3 separate regions of the Homo sapiens genome follow, and all the other regions are linked to region 1. The links are contacts of gene promoters, found by promoter capture Hi-C in human tissues and cell types (Jung and others, 2019). All regions are on one chromosome and are shown on one strand. Each heading gives the region's core, a stretch centred on a gene start or on the middle of the fragment in contact. The rest is flanking DNA. Distances are from core to core; before and after follow the strand shown.

What was found. The method cuts DNA at HindIII sites, captures the fragments that hold promoters and counts their contacts. A contact is called where the count stands out against the background at its distance.
Region 2: a contact is called between a fragment that was not itself captured here and the fragment with the promoter of KNOP1 in region 1, in 1 of the 25 tissues and cell types used here (H1 embryonic stem cells).
Region 3: a fragment that was not itself captured here is called in contact with the fragment with the promoter of KNOP1 in region 1 in 1 of the 25 tissues and cell types used here (aorta).

The regions. Positions count from the first base shown.
Region 1 is chr16:19,716,506-19,719,872 of GRCh38, forward strand. KNOP1 (lysine rich nucleolar protein 1) reads right to left here and starts at 1,722. Exons shown (of 5, transcript NM_001012991.3): 1 at 1,653-1,722. It overlaps IQCK (IQ motif containing K), which reads left to right and starts at 1,766. Exons shown (of 9, transcript NM_153208.3): 1 at 1,766-1,982. The coding sequence starts at 1,802. RefSeq lists an enhancer at 1,646-1,975. The HindIII fragment of the contact is 15,091 bases long and covers 1-3,367 here.
Region 2 is chr16:20,253,991-20,257,357 of GRCh38, forward strand. No RefSeq gene overlaps it. Among named protein-coding and RNA genes, the nearest start is that of GP2, 72 kb to the right of the region's middle. The HindIII fragment of the contact is 4,828 bases long and covers 1-3,367 here.
Region 3 is chr16:20,231,657-20,235,023 of GRCh38, forward strand. It overlaps LOC102723396 (a long non-coding RNA gene), which reads right to left and starts at 861. Exons shown (of 3, transcript XR_429682.3): 1 at 781-861. The HindIII fragment of the contact is 3,498 bases long and covers 114-3,367 here.

The DNA.
Region 1 (3,367 bases), core at 472-2,971:
TGATTGGACAGATGACTTGGAGATGTTCACTGGACAGGTGAATATATATGGATGAGGAGTTTGGGTGGCCGTGCTGACACGGGCGACATAAAGTTAGGAATGTATGGGTGGTGATAAGCCTTGAACAGAACAAGCCTGAGACAAGACTTCAAGAAATACAGTAGCTCGCCACCTAATCCCAGGTTTCCGTTACCCCTGGTCAACCCTGGTCCCAAAATAGGTGAGCACAGTACAGGAAGTTATCTTGAGAGGGAGACCACATGCATGCAACTTTTATTACAGTATACTGTTGTAATTGTTCTATTTTATTACTAGCTAGATTGTTGGTAATCGTTTACTGCACCTAATTTTTTGTGAGACAAGGTCTGGCTCTGTTGCCCAGGCTGGAGTGCAGTGGCATCATCTCGGCTCACTGCAACCTCCACCTCCCGGGTTCAAGCAATTTTCACGCCTCAGCCTCCCGAGTAGCCGGGATTACAGGCACATACCACCACGCCCGGCTAATTTTTGTATTTTTAGTAGGGACGGGGTTTTACTATGTTGGCCAGGCTGGTCTCCAACTACTGGCCTCAGGTGATCCGCCCGCCTCATCCTCCCAAAGTGCTGGGATTACAGGCATGAGCCACCACGCCCGGCCCTACTGTGCCTAATTTATAAACTTTCTCATAGATAGTATACACAAGAAAAAACAGTTATATTTAGGGTTCGGTACTGTCTGTGGTTTCAGGCATCCACTGGGGGTTTAGGAACGTACTGCCCGCGGATAATGGGGGAGGGGGACTATTGTATTGGCATTTAAATAAGTGGGCAGAGATAAAGGAGCTTGCAAAGAAGAAGGTGCAAACCTTGAAATAGTGTAGTCAGGAGAGCCAAGACGACTTCAGAATAGGGGAGCAGTCAAGAGAGCCAAGACGACTTCAGAATAGGGGAGCAGTCAAGAGAGCCAAGACGACTTCAGAATAGGGGAGTGGCCAAGAGATCTGGTAAGAACAAAGAATCCACCGGGAGGTTGCGGGTCAACTCTTAATCCCCTTCTCTCCCCATCTCTTGCCATTTAGAAAAGTATAGCATCCTCCTCTTTAGCCCTGCGACCAAATGCATTCACTCTTTCAAGGAGAAAGGAAAAGAACGTTACAGTGCATCTCCTGCAAACGCAAACGCTTTCTCCAAAACCGCTTTTAAATTCCAGGGACAGCCTTGTGAAGATCTTTGTGAATACCCGACCTCGCAAGCTCCAGAGACTACAATAATTCACTTGCCCTAGGTTCCAAAGCCAGCAAGTGGAAAACGGAGACTGGAATTCCGCCCACAGGACTCCAAAGCCTGTGCAGCAACACCCCACTCCCCCGGCAGGATCACCAGCAGGACGCGCGGGAGCCAGGAAGTAAGATCCGTACCTCCAAGGCTCCCATGGGCCCAAGCCTCCGCATCAACAGACTGGGAGGGATTACGTGGGGTCCCAGGGCCGGCTCTGAGGCGGGAAAACTTTCTGGAGGCGGCGGCCTCAGGCCGGAGCGGGCGCACACCGACTGGAGGGGTCGGATTCAGGGATGTGGGTGGACCGCATTTCCCCATCTTCCCCGCCGCGCACTTCCTCTGGTGCAATCTCCACACCCCGCGCCGGCCCGCCTGCAACGCGCCCTGGCACTCACCGGTGGGCGAAATTTCCCCGCCTCCACGTGAGAGCCAGCTCCGCCGTGACCCGGAAGTCCACTTCGAGTCGCCGGCCCACCCTCTCGGGTTCCGGCTTCTTCCGGGTCGCGGCCTTCCGGCGAACGCGGTTACCGTGGAAACCGCGGCCATGGCGGCACCGCGGCAAATCCCCAGCCACATAGTGCGCCTCAAGCCCAGCTGCTCTACAGACTCGTCGTTCACCCGGACGCCGGTGCCCACCGTGTCTCTCGCGTCCCGCGAGCTGCCTGTCTCGTCGTGGCAGGTCACCGAGCCGTCAAGCAAGAATCTGTGGGAGCAGATCTGCAAGGGTAGGAAACCTGGGCTGGCCGAGAGGGGCGGGACCCGGGCGGCCGGACGGGGGCCGCGTTTGGGGAGCGCCCACTGTGCGCCTGTCGGCTGACGGGCGGGGCCGCCGGGCAGCGGCTCCGCGGGCCCGGGCTCCGCATTTTACGCATGGGGAAACTGAGGCTCGGAGAGGCTGGCCCGAGGTTACGCAGCGCGGACTCCAATCGCGATCCGTAGTGAGGTTAAAGGCAAGGGAACGGCGAGGGAAAGCTGAATAAAGAGAACCATGCGGTGTGGACCATTGGTTCTTAAACCTCGGTTAGTGAACCGAAAGGAATTGCTGGGGCGGGGGCCGGGGTGGGGATCTTGTTATAAACGGAGGTTCCCAGGCCCCGCCCACAGAGCTTCAAATTGGGATGCAGGGAATCTGCACTTTTTAAAAGAGCACCCCAGGTAATCCTAACGTAGGTAGTCGGTGGCCCACACGTTCAGTAACCATGGTGTGGACAAACGGGTTTTAGTCCCTTCTTGCTTCAAACCTTCCTTAACCTCCCCAGGCGGAGTTGAGCACATCTTCCTTTGTGGCTCTACTCAGTATTTGTTACTTAGGTTGGGCAAATTATTTAACTTATGACCCTGTCTGCAAAGTGGGCATAATAATGGCACCTATTTCGATGGTGTTAAGAAGATGGAACCAGATAGTCACAAAAAGTGCTTAGCAAACTGCCTGATTTTAGGAGGGCAAAAGGATTATTGGGGAAAAAAAAACACAAACTGCTCGATTTACAGAAGGAGCTACGTAAGCGCTAGTTCTTAATGAATAATGTTGGGTGGGATGTTTTCTTTTTCCTCCACTAGACCATAAGCTCCTCAAGGTCAAGGACTCAGATTTTTCATTCGTGTGGCCACCATCACTACCTAAGCTGCCTGAAACAGCGCGGTGAAACCCCGTCTCTACTGAAAATACAAAAAAAAAATTATCTGGGCGTGGTGGTGTGCGCCTATAATCTCAGCTACTTGGGAGGCTGAGGAAAGGGAATTGCTTGAACCAGGGAGGTGGCGTTGCAGTGAGCCGAGTTTGCGCCACTGCACTCCAGCCTGGGTGACAGAGCGAGACTCCATCCCCAAAAAAAAAAAAGTGTGGTTAGTTAGCATTTGAAATGTGATTAGTGCAATTGAGTAACTGAATTTCTTGTTGGACTCAAATTTTTTTTTTTTTTTTTTTTTTGAGACGGCATGTTGCTCTGTCGCCCAGGCTGGAATGCAGTGGCACTGGCTGGGCTCACTGCAACCTCCGCCTCCCGGGTTCAAGCATTCTCACACCTCAATCTCCTGAGTAGCTGGGATTACAGGCACCCGTCATCATTCCTGGCTAATTTTTTTATTTTTGTAGAGAAGGGGTTTCACC
Region 2 (3,367 bases), core at 408-2,907, 540 kb after region 1:
CAAGAGAATATGCTTGCTGTTCAGAAATGCTGAGCTTTGCAGAAGGCAGCTAAAGTCCTTGTTACAAACCCTTTCTGACATGAGTTTCATGTGCCTGGCTCTGTTTCTGCATAGCTATCTAAGCATCATTCCCTGCACAGAGGCTTGCTGATGCCTGCCTTGGTCCAAGTGCCATGGACTTGACGTCAGCTCCCTCATCACCTACAGAACATGTGGAGCAAGCAAAGGCAGAGGTGAGGTCTACACACCCCCAAAGATGTAGGAAAAAGATGAATTGGAAGAGAGCAAGAGAAAGTGACTCAAAACAGAAGAGGCGGTCAAAGGTGATAAAGCAATGAAAAGGAAGAAAGAAAAGAGAATTGGCATTCGATGGAAAGTTGCAAAGAGAAGTCTTGAATACTGTGGCCTCATTTGTCTTTTGGAGATGCTTACTTGAGGAGATATATCAGTCAGGACTCTTTGGGAAATAAAACAATCGCTTTTCAAACAGGGTGAAGCAGAAAGGGAGAATTTATTGGCCCCTGTAAATGAAAGGTCCAAGTTTTCCCTTCAGGCCTGCCTAGATTCAGGGATCTAAATAATGTCATTTAGATGTAAATCTAATCCTTCCCTTCCTCTCTGGGATATGATTTTCTTCTGTGTTGCTTTATTCTGGTGGGCCTCTGCAGATCCAAATTTATAATCTCTCAGTTTAGCAACCTCAATCAGAAGAAAAGCATTTCTTGCCCAGCATTTCAATCAAAAGCCTCAAGTCTGAAACTTATTGGTCCAATATGGGTTACGTGCCCAGATCTGAAACTTGAGGATGTCGTGGAGATGTAGTATTGTCCTTGGCCATATCTGGGGAAAGTGGATGTCAGCTAAAAGTGAACCTCTCCTCTTTATACCTCCCTCCACCCCCAAACCATCTAAAAGTGGTAGAACCATGGTTCTTCAAGGAAAAAAAATAAAGAACTATTTATTGCCAGGAAGGGAAAGAGGTACCAGTAATGCAAACAAGCAAACAAACCAACAAAAACAAACAAAAAACTGGTATCTAAACAAAAAGCAATAATAATTGCTAGTATTACTCTAAATCCAATTGAAATGATTATATTAGACTTCACAGGTGTTATTTCACTAAATACTCAGAATAGGTGAATGAAATAGACATAAATTGTGCCCATTTTATAGATGGGGAAATTGAGGCTAAGTGAAATGAAATTTTTTTCAAGGTCACATGGATTTATATCCGTATCAGTCTGACCTCAGGGCTTGTGTTCCTCCAGAGCACACCTCCTCTCTTGCCAATGACTTACATCTTCTATCTTTCTGTGCCTCAGTGTCCTCACTTGTAAAATGGACATCATAGTACCTTTCTCATTGGGTTATTGTGAGTGTTAGATGGTAAGTGCTAAATAAACATTAGCTATTCCTATTGGTGGTGGCTGGGCTCCTGAATGTGCCCCCCTGGGAAGCTATTCAGGGAAGCCAGTCTGATAAAGCACCCACAATTGTGTCTCACCCTGGTGGTTCCCAAGAGGAATGGGGGATGACTCTTGCAGGCAGATTCCAGGTCTTCTTGTCCTATGCAGGGCTTCCATTATTAAAGGATTCTGTGGAAGCGATCAGCTCATGGAATTCTGAGAACTCCACCTCTCTGTTCTAAAAGACCCATTGTCCAACTCAGAGGTGGGGCCACTTGGACACTAAGGAATGCCAAAGAGGCAAGCAGGCCCCCAGTTATCCAGGGAAGTACTGGATTCCATTCCTATTCTCCCAGGCTTCCTTTTCCTTCTTCCTCCTCCTTGCCCACCAGGGAGGCAGCTGGCTGTGCTAGAGATTGGCATATTCTCTTTGCATCTGGCAAGCTGAAACAGCACACTGATGATGGCCTGCAAATGTGAAATAGATGGGAACTGTTTTGCACTTCAATGGAATAACAGGTGTTATTTCTCCTTGGACGGTGGAGGATGGAGCTGACATTTCTCTTCTTTTGGGATGTAGGCGAGGTGCCTGTGACATTGGTGATTTCTGGGCACTGTTGTGTCCCTACTGTTTGCTTTGCACTTTATTTATGACATCTCATCTAATCCTCTCTACACACAACTCGCTGGGAAAGATATGGTTACCCCTAAGTTTATAGATGAAGAACTCAAGGTGCTGCAGAGAGGTGATATATCAGAGCAGGGACTTCAGCACAGATGCATCTGAGGCCGAGAACTTAGTGTTTCCCATCTCTCCACCTGGGCTTTGAGAAGCCATCCTGAAAGAGAGGACATTTGGCTTTCTCAGAGCCTCAGCTCTGGAACTAGACCAGAGGTTGGCAAACTCTATCTGTAATTGTCCAGATAGTAAATATTTTAGGTTTTGTGGGCCATAGGGTCTCTATTCCAACTACTCAACTCTGCTGATGCAGCATGAAAGTAGCCATAGATGTTAAGTCAACAAATGGTCATGGCAGTGTTTCAATAAACTTCATTTACAAAAACAGTCAGCCGCTGATATGCAATAATTAGTTGATCCTTGAAGTAAATCAGGGATCCCTGAGTTTGACTCCTGCCTTCTCCCATTACCAGCTATGTGACCTTATTTAACTCCCCTGGTGCTCAGTTTTCTTATCTGTAAAATGGGAATCATAATACCTCATAATACTCATCATAATTGTAATATCCCATGATATGATTGTGAGAATTAAATGATTTAATGCTTGAAGAGTCAGTGCTTATAACAGTGTCTGCGACAGTGCCAGTTGGCATGATGACGAGCATAATCAGCATCATTTCCAGCATCATTGAAAGGGCCTGGAGCTGTAAGATGGGGATAATGGTAAAACCTACTTCACGGAGTTGTTGTGAGAAAGAAGTGAGAAAACGTATGCAAAATGCCAACCTGCCAACCCCCACAGGTGACTCCCCACTCTTATCAGCTTGCCTCTGCTAAGTACTTCTACAAGCCTCCTCCTGGTAAAAAGACGACGAGAAAAGACCCAGTCATACGCCCTTACGCGGCCCAAGTTTTCAGTTGGACAGTCACTGAGCAGAAATTCAGGACTGCATAGAAGAGATGCCTTAAGCCTCAAGTTCAGGAAAGGCAGTCTCCTGGTGGTTTGGAGGGGCTTCCTATAGGAGTTGGGCTTAGGGGCCTCAGAGGGTACTGCAGTGACCATTTCCTATGGAGACAGTCACCACTAACTGAGTCTGATTACAACAGACAGGGAGGAAGCTTTGCCAGCCAGCACTGCCCTACCCCAGAAGGAACCATCCCTACTCCTTACTACAAATCCTCTCCTGGTTTTCCAGCAGATGACATATCCCCTGTGTGACATACCCCCACCCCAGCATCCACTCGCTCCTCCCTTGCCCACCCCTGCTTTCAGCAGCTTCCG
Region 3 (3,367 bases), core at 613-3,112, 520 kb after region 1:
ATTTTTGTTAATTTTATAGCTTGCAATGACAAAATAAACACATATACTTTAAAAAAAGAAAACCTTGTGATTGAAATTTTTGCCAAAACCACTCACAATTTTGGCTTTGCAAATCTGATATTCTTCAGTTCCCTGAAATAATTTTATTTGTTTGTTTATTTTTTTGAGACAGGGTCTCACTCTGTCACCCAGGCTGGAGTGCAGTGGCACAATCTTGGCTCACTGCAACCTCTGCCTCCCCTGAAACTATTGTATGTAATTATAATGTGATTTTTAATAATGTGAGTTGTCTTAAGATCACAAAGCTCACGTTGGTAAGAGTGGACTGCTGTAATTTTTTTTTTCAGAACTTACTGTTTTCCTAGCAAAATTATTTCTGGAATTGCATTTGAAGAACCACTTTTCTTTAACTCTTTGCTTACATATTTTTGCTTGGCCAGGCCAGAGAAGGGAGGGTCCTGATTAGTTTAAGTCATTTAGCTTATCCTATCCTTATCCTATTCTTGTGGGTGTAGGGATTGGTTCTAAGATGAGTGCACGGACACTTTCTGGCCAATGAAAACTGAACTCAAGTTCAACTGTTGGGGAAGAGAAGCTTTTATCTCAGTGTGATGTGGAGCTGAGAAGGTGTGAGATCTGGGGCTGTTGAAAGACAACAGTCTGTGGGAGAGTGAAACTACACACACAGGAGGGCTGGAGAGTTGTTGTTTGTCCTATCTTGATGACTTGGAAAAATTCTGGAACCAACAAGGCCAGACAGCTCTCCAATTTTTCTCTTACCTGAGTCAATGAATTCTCCTTCTGTAAAAGCCATGTCAATTTGAACTGGAGCTTTTACTTAATTACTATGAAGAGTCTAACAGATAGAGCAGAACAGAGGAGAGTATTGAAATAGCACAGTTGAGCTTTTCAAAGTAATTTCTTTCCTACTTCTTCATGTGGTCCTTGCAGCAAAGAGTCAGTGTGGCAGAGCACTGGACAGTATGCTTCCTGAGGACAGGACATGAGGATGCTTTGGTCGATGTCTTCCTCACCTGGCAGGCACTCAGTTCATAACTGTTGAGAGGATGAGTGAACTCATTTTTATGATATGAATTCAGCCTTTCTCAGGACCTCCCCACCCCTTTATCTTAAATGATTCACAAGCCATTCCTTGAATCAATCTGCCGTTTCCTGCTATTTCTGAGCTTTTGCCTGAGTTATTCCTTCCACCTAGAATGCTTTCTCTGCTTCCTCTGCCTCCCATATTCTCATCCATCCTTAAAACCCAGGATAAATGCATCTCCTTTATGAAGCTTACTTTGATTTCCACCGGTCTGATAGAATGGCTTTTCTCCCTCTCTAAACTCCTGTGGGGAAGGAGATAAAGACTCAGACAGACCTGGGTTGGAATCTCTCCGTTGTGTCACGTCCAGGCTGTGTGACCTTGGGCAAGTCATTTAACTACTCTAAGCCCAACTATATAATGTTGGGATAAAAAATACTCCCAACTTCTTATGCATATTGTGGAGAACAGATGAAATACAGAGTACAAATTTTCTGTGGGTCGTAGCACAAAGAAGATAGCAATTCTTAGAGGTACTACTGTTACCCCTGTTTCACAGGCGAGGCATTCTGTGATTAAATAACCCATGCCTAAGGTCAAAGGACTCTTCATTCACTTGTTCCTTCACAAGTCAATATTTATCGAGCCCCTACTATGTGCCAAGCACTGTGGGTGCTAGGAGACAGTGGTGAACAAGACAGATGAAATTCCTGCACTCATATTCATGAAGGAAAGTGGTTCTGACGTAAAGAGATAAGAGATATGTGTGATGAATGTTACACGGGGGAAGTTTAGGGTATTATGGGGAGGGAATATCAAGATGTTGGAACTTGGCCATAAGACTTCCCTGAGTTATGATAATTAAATTGATATGAGAAGAACATAAGCCTTCTTCACCCTGTCACATAGAAGTCAGGTTTGGCCAGGTGTGGTGGCTCATGCCTGTAATCCCAGAATTTTGGGAGGCTGAGGCAGAAGGATTGCTTGTGCCCAGGCGTTTGAGACCAGCCTGGGCAACATAGCGAGACCCCTGTCTCTACAAAAATAAAAATAAAAATGTCAGCCTAGAGGGGTGGTACACGTGTGTTGTCTTAGCTACCAGGGATGCCAAGGTGGGAGGTTCACTTGAGCCCAGAAATTTGAGGCTGCAGTGAGCTAGAATCACCCCACTGCACTCTAGCATGGAGACATCTGGGGCTTCTGGCTTGGGCAGCCTGGCACCCTCTTTGCAGATCTCCAGGGGCATGTAGCCCCCTTCCCATCAAGCTGGGGACTGGGGGAAGAGGATGATTTTCTTCATGACTCTGGCTGGTCTATCCTAGCCCTCCTTATTAGTGCCGCCAGTCATTCTATCATTCTCCTTCACGTGTCTCTCCTCTCCAGCCAGACTTCCGATGATATTTCATTGTTCTCTGAAATTACCTCCATGAAATTTTAAATAAAAATGAGAAATGGGCTCTTACAGCTTCTACAATGGCTCCATGCAATTTTTCCTTCCCCCCGCCCCGGCCCACAATCAACAAAGTAAACACAGCCCCTGCTCACGGACCAGTTTTCCCTAGAGGCTTTTGATAGAGGATGCGAGATGGAGGCTTGCACACAGGCAGCACACAGACTGTCGGCAGACAGCAGTTAAAACTCTGGGAATTTCACATTAAAATCCATATTTCTGACTTCTGAAAAAAGATCAGAAATGGCAGCACCATCCCCTCATCTTCTCACAGCAATATTTGGCTTTAGCTGAGGGGCAGCTGTCTCCTGTAGATGAGGAATGCAACCTGCCATTCACCACAGACCCCACTTCTCCCTATTGATCCCCAGCCCAGTCTGCTTAAGTCATTTTCCAAGTTTGCTTGGTCTCTGAAGGCACTCAAGCTTGCACTGAATTTTAATTTGGATTTAAAGTGGATCTGGCACATTGTAAGTGGTGGATTGAGTAGCTATTATTAATAGTAGTAATGGTAATAATATTCAAAGAGTACAGTTCCAAGGCTGGATAAACAGGATATAGGACTTTCTTGCATAGCAGTCACATAAGAATACTGATAACCAAGCATTCATAACAACACCCTCCCTCCTTTCTAATCAGCACTCCTACATTAGAACGTTTCTTAGTAAATTGCACAAAATTCCTATCCATAATAGAAACAGTGCATGTTGCAGCTAGGTGATTATTATTATTTACTATCACCCGTAATTATACATAATTTCAATAATTGCCCAAACACAGACTACATGAATAAATATTCCTTAGGAAAACACAAATTAATGAAAAGAGAATCCAAGCTGGCAGTGAGATCTGTAGGATCCTGAGGGCACTTT